Linked DNA regions of Homo sapiens: regions 1, 3 and 4 are each linked to region 2. The links are contacts of gene promoters, found by promoter capture Hi-C in blood cells and fetal thymus (Javierre and others, 2016). All regions are on one chromosome and are shown on one strand. Each heading gives the region's core, a stretch centred on a gene start or on the middle of the fragment in contact. The rest is flanking DNA. Distances are from core to core; before and after follow the strand shown. Region 1 has its middle 33 kb from the start of LUCAT1. Region 2 holds the start of ARB2A (ARB2 cotranscriptional regulator A). Region 3 has its middle 53 kb from the start of ARRDC3. Region 4 has its middle 110 kb from the start of ARRDC3.

Evidence for each region. The method cuts DNA at HindIII sites, captures the fragments that hold promoters and counts their contacts. A CHiCAGO score of 5 or more calls a contact.
Region 1: a fragment that was not itself captured here is called in contact with the fragment with the promoter of ARB2A in region 2 in 1 of 17 cell types (non-activated CD4 T cells); the score reaches 5.4 in non-activated CD4 T cells.
Region 3: a fragment that was not itself captured here is called in contact with the fragment with the promoter of ARB2A in region 2 in 1 of 17 cell types (total CD4 T cells); the score reaches 5.0 in total CD4 T cells.
Region 4: a contact is called between a fragment that was not itself captured here and the fragment with the promoter of ARB2A in region 2, in 1 of 17 cell types (naive CD8 T cells). The highest score is 5.7, in naive CD8 T cells.

The regions. Positions count from the first base shown.
Region 1 is chr5:91,280,240-91,282,939 of GRCh38, reverse strand. No RefSeq gene overlaps it. Among named protein-coding and RNA genes, the nearest start is that of LUCAT1, 33 kb to the left of the region's middle. RefSeq lists enhancers at 1,539-2,480, 2,223-2,482, 2,481-2,700. The HindIII fragment of the contact is 1,095 bases long and covers 711-1,805 here.
Region 2 is chr5:94,110,284-94,113,087 of GRCh38, reverse strand. It overlaps ARB2A (ARB2 cotranscriptional regulator A), which reads left to right and starts at 1,425. Exons shown (of 11, transcript NM_032042.6): 1 at 1,425-1,577. LOC105379087 (a long non-coding RNA gene) reads right to left here and starts at 1,386. Exons shown (of 7, transcript XR_001742441.2): 1 at 1,349-1,386; 2 at 684-763. The HindIII fragment of the contact is 15,548 bases long and covers 267-2,804 here.
Region 3 is chr5:91,435,080-91,437,779 of GRCh38, reverse strand. No RefSeq gene overlaps it. Among named protein-coding and RNA genes, the nearest start is that of ARRDC3, 53 kb to the right of the region's middle. The HindIII fragment of the contact is 1,176 bases long and covers 743-1,918 here.
Region 4 is chr5:91,495,518-91,498,217 of GRCh38, reverse strand. No RefSeq gene overlaps it. Among named protein-coding and RNA genes, the nearest start is that of ARRDC3, 110 kb to the right of the region's middle. The HindIII fragment of the contact is 1,505 bases long and covers 686-2,190 here.

The DNA of each region.
Region 1 (2,700 bases), core at 9-2,508, 2.8 Mb after region 2:
TTCTTGCCTGGTTGTTTTGCATCACCTACCACTTTTCTGGCCAACTGATGATTGTAGGGCATTCCTTTTATTTAGATTTCCTTTATTTCTTTCATCTCTCCACTCATAATCAAAGAACATTAAGTACTTGCTCAGGTGTTTTAGACTCTTGTCTAAGGATCTTGCCCAAGGTCACTGTATTAGTCTGTTTTCACACTCTATATATAAAGAAATACTTGAGACTGAGTAATTTATAAGAAAAAAAAGAGGTTTAATTGACTCACAGTTTCACATGGCTGGGTGGGGGGCCTCAGGAAACTTACAATCATGGCAGAAAGTGAAGGGGAAGCGAGGACCTTTTTCAGAAAGTGGAACGAAAGAGAAGAATGAAGGAGGGGCTACCAAACACTTATAAAACCATCAGATCTCATGAGAACTCACTATCACGAGAACAGCATGGGGGAAACTGACTCCATGGTCCAATCCCCTCCCTCCCTCGATACATGGGGATTACAGGTCCCTCCCTTGACACGTGGGGATTACAAATCGAGATGAGATTTGGGTGGGGACACAGAGCCAAACCATATCAGTCACTGAACCACTACGTTTGTGATGTACATTCCCAAAGCTTTTATTAGTTCTAGGATCTGGACAAAGTACCTGTACTACCTCTTTGTGATCTGATCAATAGTTTAGTCAAGTTCAATAATACTGATAACACAATACAAGCTTCGTTTACTGAGAAATTTTTTGCATGGAAATGTGCTAAACCTTTTATAGGCATCATCTCATTTAATCCTGCCTGCTTTGCAAACAGGTGAAATGGTGATTATAATCTCCATTATAGGCTTAGAGAAGCTAAGTATCAAGTCCAAGTTCACACCGTCATAAGATGAATTTGGGTTTTTGAACTGAAGTCTGACTTGGTAAATGCCAAGGCAATATCCATATGGATATGCTAAGAATAATGAATCAGAATCAGGCACAGTTTTTAAAACATCAAATGATGTATGTAATTACTTAAAATCTTAAATTTTTATGCAATAATTTGACTTTTTTTTTAAGGCTAGCGCATTAAGTATACCTCCCATTACAACTAGTTCAAGTATATGAGATTCCATTTCTGGTCCATATTACTCATTTTGCTTTCTTGGGCTCTGATCCTCTCTCGTATTTTCATGTTTCCTATTTGTATTTGTTTGGGGCTTTTCTCTCCTTTACAAAATTGGGTAGTCATGCTTCTCCAGTAACCTTGGTGAGTCAGTTCAACCTCTAATTACTTCAGTCTCCTTGCCTGCAAGAAAAGCAGTCAAACTACACGAACACTCTATTGTTTTGCATCATTTCACACGTACACAGGGATAAGGAGGGAAATAATTCTCCCAATGAAGCAGAACCACCGGTAACAGCTGGCACAACTTCTAAAGACCCAGTCTGTCTTGAAAAACAGCCGCAAATTGTCCCTAAATAATAATTACCCCACCTGTATCAGGACTATCTCACTGACTAGCTGCACTTCATGACACAATACCTGCTATTAACTCTCAGCATGGATATAAACATTGCCATAATATTTTTTAAAACCAACAATGTATCATTTGCACATTAGGACAACAGAATGTTAGTTAAGGCACAGAAAACACAAAGGCATGGCTACCCTGTTCTTTGGTGACTCCATATCTAATTATTACCACACATGTCTCCAGTCTTTAGACAAATTTAGTTATTATAAGGGTGGTTGGACAAATAGCAAAGATTTGATTTTCATTAACAAAGGGCACATCAGAACCGAGTTAATCCTTCCCAGTTACCCAACATTCAAAGCTTCTAGTGCAGTCACTTTCTAGTCATTTTAGAACCCAGAGCAGTGTGACGATTTGATGCTTAAGTTTCAACACGTTTTATTAATCCATTCTTCTTGTGCTTCATTTAAAATATTGGAAACTATAAAAAGATCAGCGTGTTAATCCTCTGCCAGGAAACGGGAAAAAAAAGTTAAAAACCTAACAACAACACGAAAAGAGCAAGAGCGCTGGAATCTCAGCTTTGAGGAAACACATGGGATGAAAGCATCCGCCCAAGCTCTAACCATTTGTCACATGGGACTCTTCCCCTCGGGGGTGAATCCTGGATGTCCCCAGGATGGAGCGAGGAGGTCGTGCGTGCGGGCGAGTGTGTGACTGCAGGGGGCCTTGGCGGCGCGAGGAGGCGACGCCGCCCCCTCCCTCAGGCGCAGGGAGGGTCTTCCAGGAAGCGGCGGATCTCTGCTGACTCCGCGGCTGCGGGCCCCGGGCTGCGGCCGCCCAGGCCGGCACGTAGCGCCGAGCGTGACTCAGCGCTGACTCATCCGACTCGCTGCCAGTGGATTTCCCCCGTCAGCTGCTCGCGCTACTCCTGTCGCCGGGAGCTCGCAGGACTTCGCAGATACCGCTGCCTCCTTAGTCTTTCCTGAATAGCAGAGCAGTCCTGTCGCTTTAAACAGAGCAAGGCAGCTTTCACTGCTTTTGAATCCCGACCGAGCGGGGCACTGCCGTGCTTTGTTTTCTTTGCCTTTAAGAGTGCAATAGTCCACTAATCAAATTCTTTCATCAAAAGAGTGTTGGGACAAATCCCTGACATCGTCCTTCCACTGTGATTTGGAGATGACCTCCACCCAGGTTTCACTTCCGTTGTACCCAGCTCTCGTCTTATTTTTGTCCCTCATTTTGTGAATTTATCCTC
Region 2 (2,804 bases), core at 176-2,675:
CTTGGCTCAGACAGTTTCTCAGACTTTCCTTGTTTTTCATGACTTTAACTGTTTGGAGTAGTACTGGTCAGGTATTTTGTCTGATGTTTTTCTCATGGTTAAACTGGGATTATACATTTTTGGGAGCCTTATCTTTTTAATATAATCTGTCACTGTTGCAAAAGTCCACCAAAATAAAAATGTTTCCCTCCTCTGTTCAACAATCCTTCAGCTTCCCCAATTGTCTGCAGCAGAAAATCAAATTACTCAGCATGACATAGAAAGCTTTTCAGAATCTGGCTGTTGCCTTCCTCTTCAGTATAAAGTGTCACTCTACAAACCATTTGAGTTCTTTCCGGAAATGAAGCCCTAACAGTCTTGCAATGCCCGAGATTCATTCAGGTACTCAGTTCTGGCTAACTCCAGTGGATTCTCTCACCTTTTACTGCTCCTTATCTCCCGCCACTTACTTACACCACTTTCTTCTTGTCCTATACACTTTTCTAGATTTCCCCAATCTATTATTTACCACTGTGATCATTCAGTCATTCAATAAGTATTTATTGTCTACTTTGTGGACAGGCACTGTTGTATGGTTGAGGATACATTAAAAAGACAAGATTATGTCACTACCATCAGTGAGTTTACATTTTAGGGGGCAGGGTACATTTGCAAAGTACAAACAGTGTGGAAGTGAAGTATACCTTAGAGAGTCTGAGATCTCCTCTCTGAAGAACATAACTGTTGGTTTACTTGTCAGCCACCAGACTTTCCTTCTCTTTAGCTGCCTCAGAGGAGAGGGTATCTAACTCAGCTTTGTTACCCCAGCGTCTAGTTTAGCCTAATTCATTAAATTAACAGTTTTGGACTAAATAAATGCTCTGAGAGTACTATCTAAAAATTAAAAATCAGTTGCTTCCATCCCTTTCCCCAGATTTATCCTTGAAATACCTTTCAAACCTGTTTCTGGAAAAAACATTAATATCCGTAAGATTCCCATTTGAGTCAAGTATGATAACGAGAAAACTTTTGTCATTAGGATGCTAATATTAACTTCCTATTTTACATGTCCTAATTCAAAGGTAAATTTAATCTTCCGAATCTAGACCTCCCGGTTTTTCTGGAGTTGAATGGACAGGGTAAAGTCTGACACACTCTGAGTAGCGGAGTGGGGAACTGGCTGTAAGGACATCCTTAGAATAGTTAAAATTCCGCTGGGAAAACGAGGCTTTAGAGTGGCCTCGTCCTCTACGGCTACCCAGGCAGCCTTCACAAGGAAGGGCGACCAGAGTCCGCCAGTGCATAAGAGAACTACACTTAATTCACGCGGGCCTCTTTCTCCAGTCCACCTAATACCACAGGAACCTACCCAGGGCCCGCGCCCCGCCCGTTTCCGGGTTGTCGCCGCCGCTGCCGTCAAGTGCGTAATGACGTATCAATCTCCTGAAGACCCCGGAAGTGCAACTCGAACTTGGTCGGGGCGCGGATCCCGAGAGGGAAAGTCATAACAACCGCACGAGGGAGTTCGACTGGCGAACTGGAAGGCCACGCCTCCTCCCGCCTGCCCCCTCAGCCCTGTGGCTGGGGGCAGAGCTCAGGTAGGACTGCCGTTTGCGGGGATGTGAGCTCCGGGGGCAGGCCCGGGTCGAAATCAGGAGGGGGCTGGCCTGGGTCGGTCTCAGGCGGTGGTCGCTGGCCCTGGGGACCGAGGCTGTCTGGAACCACGCTGCATTCCCTGCGGACACCTCTGACTTGTGTCTGGGCCTCCGCTGATGGGCAGGTCCCATGTTCCATTTCCACTCTCTAGGCGGGAGCGACGTGTGTGTTCCCTGGATGACTTTCCTTATGTCGGGGCGTACGGGATTCTGGGAGTCCCTGGAGACAGAGTAATGGGCCCTCCTCCGCTTTCTTGCGAGTGGAGGTATTGTGGTTGTTGTATTAATTTTTTTTTCTACAAAAAGTATTATTAACTGCCAGCGCTTTACCAGAAGTCATTCACTGCAGAGGGATTAAAGTGCAGTTATAAAATGCTCTCAAAACTTGTAACATGCATGGGCGCGGGTGGGACGTTTCTCTGGGATGCAGTATGAATTAAGTGTTGAATACTTTTGACTTTGAAATAAAGTAAGTATGTTTTGGAAGCAGTCTTCTCTTTCCCTCATCCAGGTGTTTAACATATTCTTATAGTGCTCCAGGGTCTATATCTGTTGGGCCAAGAAACTCGTTGTGTTTGGATATACTGTATTTAATGACATGCAATGTTGTTGCATTTGTCCATTTCTCCCAAATCCTCAAAAAAGCTGTAGAGGGAAAAATTCTCTGGTTTTTATCTACAAGTGCATTGTATATTTATCAAAATATCAGTGCGATTTTTTAATGTAGTACATGACATCGTTTGCATTAACGCATGCCATATACTGCATAACAAATATCTCATTGATAAGGTGTATTCTTTATCCTACAATGCGAGGGACGGTTACACTGTATACATTTAGCGAATGTAGAAACTGAGTAAGAGAGTATTTTTGGATCTGCTTCGTTAAGGCCTCAGTGACAGTGCTGGTACCAGGCTTCTTTCAGAATTTTCAACTAGGCCTTACTTCCACTTAACCAGTGAATCCTACGCTGAAAAGTTAAGGATGCTCTGGATGCTTTCAGGCTATGGCTGCTCCATATGGTAGAATAAATAGTACCAAGGCCAAGAGGGAAATATTATCTATGAAACCATGAGCATCCACTTGTTTATCCATTTAGCAAGTATTTACTGGCAACCTTCAGTGTGCCGGATAGTGTTCAGGTGATGGGAAGACAGCAGTAAACAAAAT
Region 3 (2,700 bases), core at 81-2,580, 2.7 Mb after region 2:
ACTCTGTGAAGTATCACGTACCTAGTCCTCAACATAAATGCCTGAGCTATATAACAATATTTATTAACTGTCGTTGGCTAAAGACTTACTAGGCTAGCCAACTGAACCTACAACAACTTACTAGGTAGTTGTTATGACCTGAATTGTATCCCCACCCAAAATTTATTTTTTTAAATCCCAACCCCCACTACCTCAGAATGTGACTATTTGGATATAGAGCCTTTAAAGTGGTAATTAAGGTAAAATAAGGCCATATGGGTGAGCCTTCATCCAGTATGACTGGTGTTCTTATAAGGAGAGATTACGACACAGATACATAGAGGAAAGACATGTGAAGACACCAGAGAACCATGGCCATCTACAAGGTAAGGAGAGAGGCCTTAGAAGAAACCAACCCTACTCACACCTTGATCTTGGAATTCTAGCCTCTAGAATTGTAAAGAAAATAAATTTCAATTGTTTAAGCCACCAGTCTGTGGTACCTGTAATGGCAACACTAGAAAACTATCATCATAAAGTAGATAAATTATTTTATCCTACTTCCGGATTCTTTTGAGGTTTAAGAACTGGCAGTGTGCTCCAGTGGACTTGTAATGGATATCTGTTATTTGGCCCTACACCCTCTTCACTGTATTATGGTAATAGTACCTTGCTCTTCCCATGAGCTTTTATTTAAGTCAGGATGGGTCTTCCAAACAAAAGGTGAGCACATTGGCCCTGGAGAAGACTCCCAGCCCAAGCTTGCAATCAGCCTCTGTCTTAGAATCTGAAATCTGAGTAGAGTCACATAGGACAGAAGGAACTTGAGCTGAGGCATTTGAAGGCTAGTGCCCTACAGAGACTTTCCATGACTGATCACCGTACAGATCCCTTAGGACCCTGTTTGTTGACCTTCCCAAGGCCTTGAATTTTCAACTCTCCCTCTGCTTTTAAACCTGTGGAGCATACTTCTAATTCATTCCCTTTTTTGGCCTAAACTCACTAGAGACAGTGTCAGTTCTGCAGCCAAAAACACCTTAGTAATACACATATTATTTTGTACAGCCACATTTCTCCCATGATAGTCTCCTAATAAATGAGTTAATATTCTACTTTTCGACTCCATGAGAAAAAAATATTTGAAAATGCCTTGCAAAATAAAATTCTCCATTACATCTATCCAATGTAGGTATGTAACAACACTATTTCACAGATGAGGAAGGTCAAAGAACAGATGCTAATGTATGAACAAACTTTGGCAACACATCCACCAGAACCTACAAGGAAAATTAAGGGCAAGAGAAAACAGGATATGGAAAATTTGAAATGCAGTTCGGAGTTTGTACCTGCATGCACTATGGCACACAGCTAACGTGGAGGTGGAGAGTGACTGAGTACAGGAGTTTTGCAATGATACCTTTACCCTATTGAACTATCACAACCCAAAACCAGATGGTTGCTACAGAGAGAAGCTACCTCATCACCAATATGACTTAACATCATAACTTGGTAAAAGAATTTTAAAATCGTTTTTAATAGTAATGTTTCTCTAACCCTGGGCAAGTAATATGGAAAGAAGTTCTGTCTGTGCCAAAACAGTGATTTTCCACTATGGAAATCTTATTCTGCATTTATTATTTATACCACTGTCACATTGTTAGCATCAAGTTTATAATAAATGTATTCGCTCATTCACCAATCATTCACAATTTTAAAAATCATCTAGAGCCAGATAATAGAATTAAATCACTGAGTTAACATAACCCTTTTTCTACTTAAATTTTAAAACATCAATACAGTTTTCATTTACTTTTCCATTCTCCTTCAATCTGAACAATTAAATTTCATTACTTTTTTCTCTAATATCTGGAAGATTTTTACTTGTGGTTTCTGCTTTTTTTATCGCATTGACGAACTGCTACAATAGTTTTCCAAAGCTTTATCAGCCACAATACAAACTGATTTGATCATTCATAAAACTGGCATCATTCATGCTGCCAGGTTGCTGCCTTAATTAGCAAGTAGTAGGAATGACCTTTTACACTCCAATAAAGTAAATCACCTCCCAAAATAAGTTAACTAGTGGGGTCAGCAGGGAAGCCTTATTATAATGTCCTATACCTAAGGAAGTGTGCAGGTATCCCCACTACCAGCTACAGAACTAATACTTATTTCACCCAACTACATATCTACAAATCAAAATCTCCCTTTTTCATTCCCTTTTCCCCCTCCTTCATCTCTATTTATGAATATCTCCACTTCAGTGTTCTGGATCAATCAATTTTGGTTCAACAAATTAGTTCCCAAATAGAAAGGTACAGGAAAATAAAATAGCTGTAACTCAGGAGATGCTAAAAACCTCTATGGTGCTTTTTTCATTTATGTAACAGTTAACACTGCCCCCCAAATTCCCATCACTAATAACCATAAGAGAAGGTTAAGGGCTAGTCTCTCTACAACAACTCTTAAAATACGGCAGCTCTAGAAAATTAGAACATAAATAGCCATTCACATGTTAGGGACTCATATGCTAGGAATGAAAAACTCAGCAGCAAATAGCATAGACCTAGACATTTAGCTGTGATATGATCAGTTATCAGCAGAATCACAGATTTAAAGACAGAAATGAAGAAACTAGATGGCATAAGAAGTTATAATCTGGGAGGAGATTTTTAAAAGTCGGTGCAGTAAGGTGAACTGCTTCCATGAGAATGGCAGGGG
Region 4 (2,700 bases), core at 189-2,688, 2.6 Mb after region 2:
TTCTCACGAAAAAAGTTTTTATCTGCCTAACCCTTGCATCTATCTCTCAACTCAGGCAGAAGAAGCGCATCCAGTTAGCCTTTCTAAACCCTGACAAGTCACATCAGCACCACCACTCTTCCATCTTATACTTTCTGCTTGCCTAAAGACTCTTGAACCAAATATCAAATTTTAAACAAAGACAGGATCTGACCCTACCTTGTATGACCCTGACTTACTCACCTCGGCCTCATCTCAGCTCTCATTTCACTAAAAACTATTTACCAAAACAGGCAGTCAATCCATAAGGCATAGGAGACCAACCTGACTTTTTAAAATATTGTGTTAAAATTTATCTTGATTTCTGAATTGTTCAATGTCTCCTTATATTTTGCATCTGAACACCTCACTCTCCTCCCCTAGTGCCAGCTCCTCTGAATTGTAACCTTCTTCTCAGGGACCTTTCCAGCAAGAGGTTAAGTAACAAGCTCGAGGAAAATGAAGCCAGCACTTTTAACTCATAGTACACCCATGGCAAGAGAAATTTTTTTCTCCAAGCATTTGGGCATAGGGTACGAGGAAGGCCAGAGTTCTTCCTTAGAACAGGACTGGTAGAAAGGAGTTCCCACTCCTCAGGGACTGCTGAGTCTGGAGCTAGGTCTCTGGTGCTACCAGCAGGCATCTTCTGCATCATTTGAAAAAAGCTTGTGTGCAGAACAAAGCCAATCAGAGACCAGCATGATAAAAGCTAGATAGAAAGAGAGAGTCCAGAGGTACTGAGACCCTTTCAGCATCCTAGTTTCCCCAACAATTCCTTCAGGCATGTGAACTAGTGGAGCTGCAAGAGCCACCATGTTTCCTTTCTGCTCAAGGTAATTTGAATTAGGTTTCTGTCACATGTTTCCAAAAGAGTGTTGATCAATTTCAGGATCCCATCTCTAAAAGTTCTTTGATGTCTATTATTATCACCCAAAAAAAAAAAACTTTTTCCTGAATTCTGTTGGCTGGTCTAACCTGAAGACCTTAACCTTCAGGATGGTAAATATTCCTACACGGAGAGCTAAGTATTGTCCCATGACAAATGGAGAAATGTTTAATAACATGACACATTTCGTATGACCTGAGATGCCTGTGGAATTAGAGCCATGCGCTGCACAACGACACTTCAGTCAATGACAGACAAGATATGACAGTGGTCTCAAAAGATTATAATACTGTATTTTTACTGTACCTTTTCTATGTTTAGATCCACAAATATTTACCATTGTATTACAATTGCCTACAGCATTCAGTACAATAACATGCTGTACAGGTTTGTAGCCTAGGAGCAATAGGCTATCCCACATAGCCTAGGTGTGTAGTAGGCTATACCATCTAGGTTTGTGTAAGTACATTGTATAAAGTGCGTGTGATGAAATCATCTAATGACACATTTCTCAAAATATATTCCCATCACTAAGCAGTGCATGACTGTACTAGAAATCCATCACAACTTTTCATTCAAAAACAGCCCCAAAAAAGTTAGGAACTAGTTGAAGTTTGTAATTCGTGTCCTAAAACTTCTTTCTAAATTCCTCTATGTATTTTCAAAACTCCCTCTTAGACATACTGTGCTTCCAACTGTTCCTTGATATGCTGGATTTCAGCAGAACTTGCAGAATGAGAAAATGACCGCAAGACATCTAGAATTCCTTCCCCAAATATCTAGGAAACTTAATAAACCTAAGAGCAGGGAAGTTCTACTTGGAGTGAACCCTATTCCAGAAAATTTATCTCAATAAAATGTCAGACACCTCACCCTACTTTTTCCAGGGAAACTGGGACTCGAAGCTAATGGGGTCACAGAGAGACTGTTCTTCCAAGGGCTCCTGGCCATTTCTGGGTTCTCTGAGTAGCTAATTCCTTGAGCCTACACAGATGACAGGACATTCAGATTCTAACTGTGAGCAGAAATGTATAGAAGATGAATCCTGATTTTTTTAACTTATCATAAATAAGATTGCTTTTAATCACTCAATAAATCATCTTACATAGCTAGAAATCTATAAACTATTATTTTTAAATGCCTAAATTTTGTCTAAAAAGAGGGTGTGGTTTTGTATTGTCACTTGTAGATCACAGCAAGACAGGGTCCAGAGGGTTTACCCCGTCCTCAGCACTAAGATAAGCCGTAAAGGGACTTTATAAGACACAGGTTACCCTTTAGAAGCTTAGAGCAAATAAATGTTTAAGGCAGAGGCTGAAAACATGGGGCATAGTCTATAGAAACTCTAAGTGAGGTGGGAGGGCTGCTGTGTGTAGGTTGTACCCTGCTGGGGTGGTGCTGAAATCTATCCTTTATCTTCTCACCAAACCATGAGTCCTGGAACCACTTTCTAATTGCTCCACCCAGTGGGGGCTCCCTTTTGCAACTCCTCCAGGAAGAAGCAGAATGAATTACAGGACTCCCTAGAGGACAACAGATCCTGGATTTGAAGTTTCTGCTCTCAATAGTACAACCAAAGCAAGTGGGTAGAACCATGGGGCTTTATGTCCAAATGAGCACTACTCAGGATTCCAGTTTTGAATGAAGTAGCAAAGAATAGCAAATAACTTTGATAACAAAATGAGTTGATTTCTGATAATAAAATGAAACTGATAACTAAGTCATTTGCGACTGGTGCAAAAATACCTTTCCACCACATCCTAATTCCTAGAACCTATGTTAAATTACATAGCAAA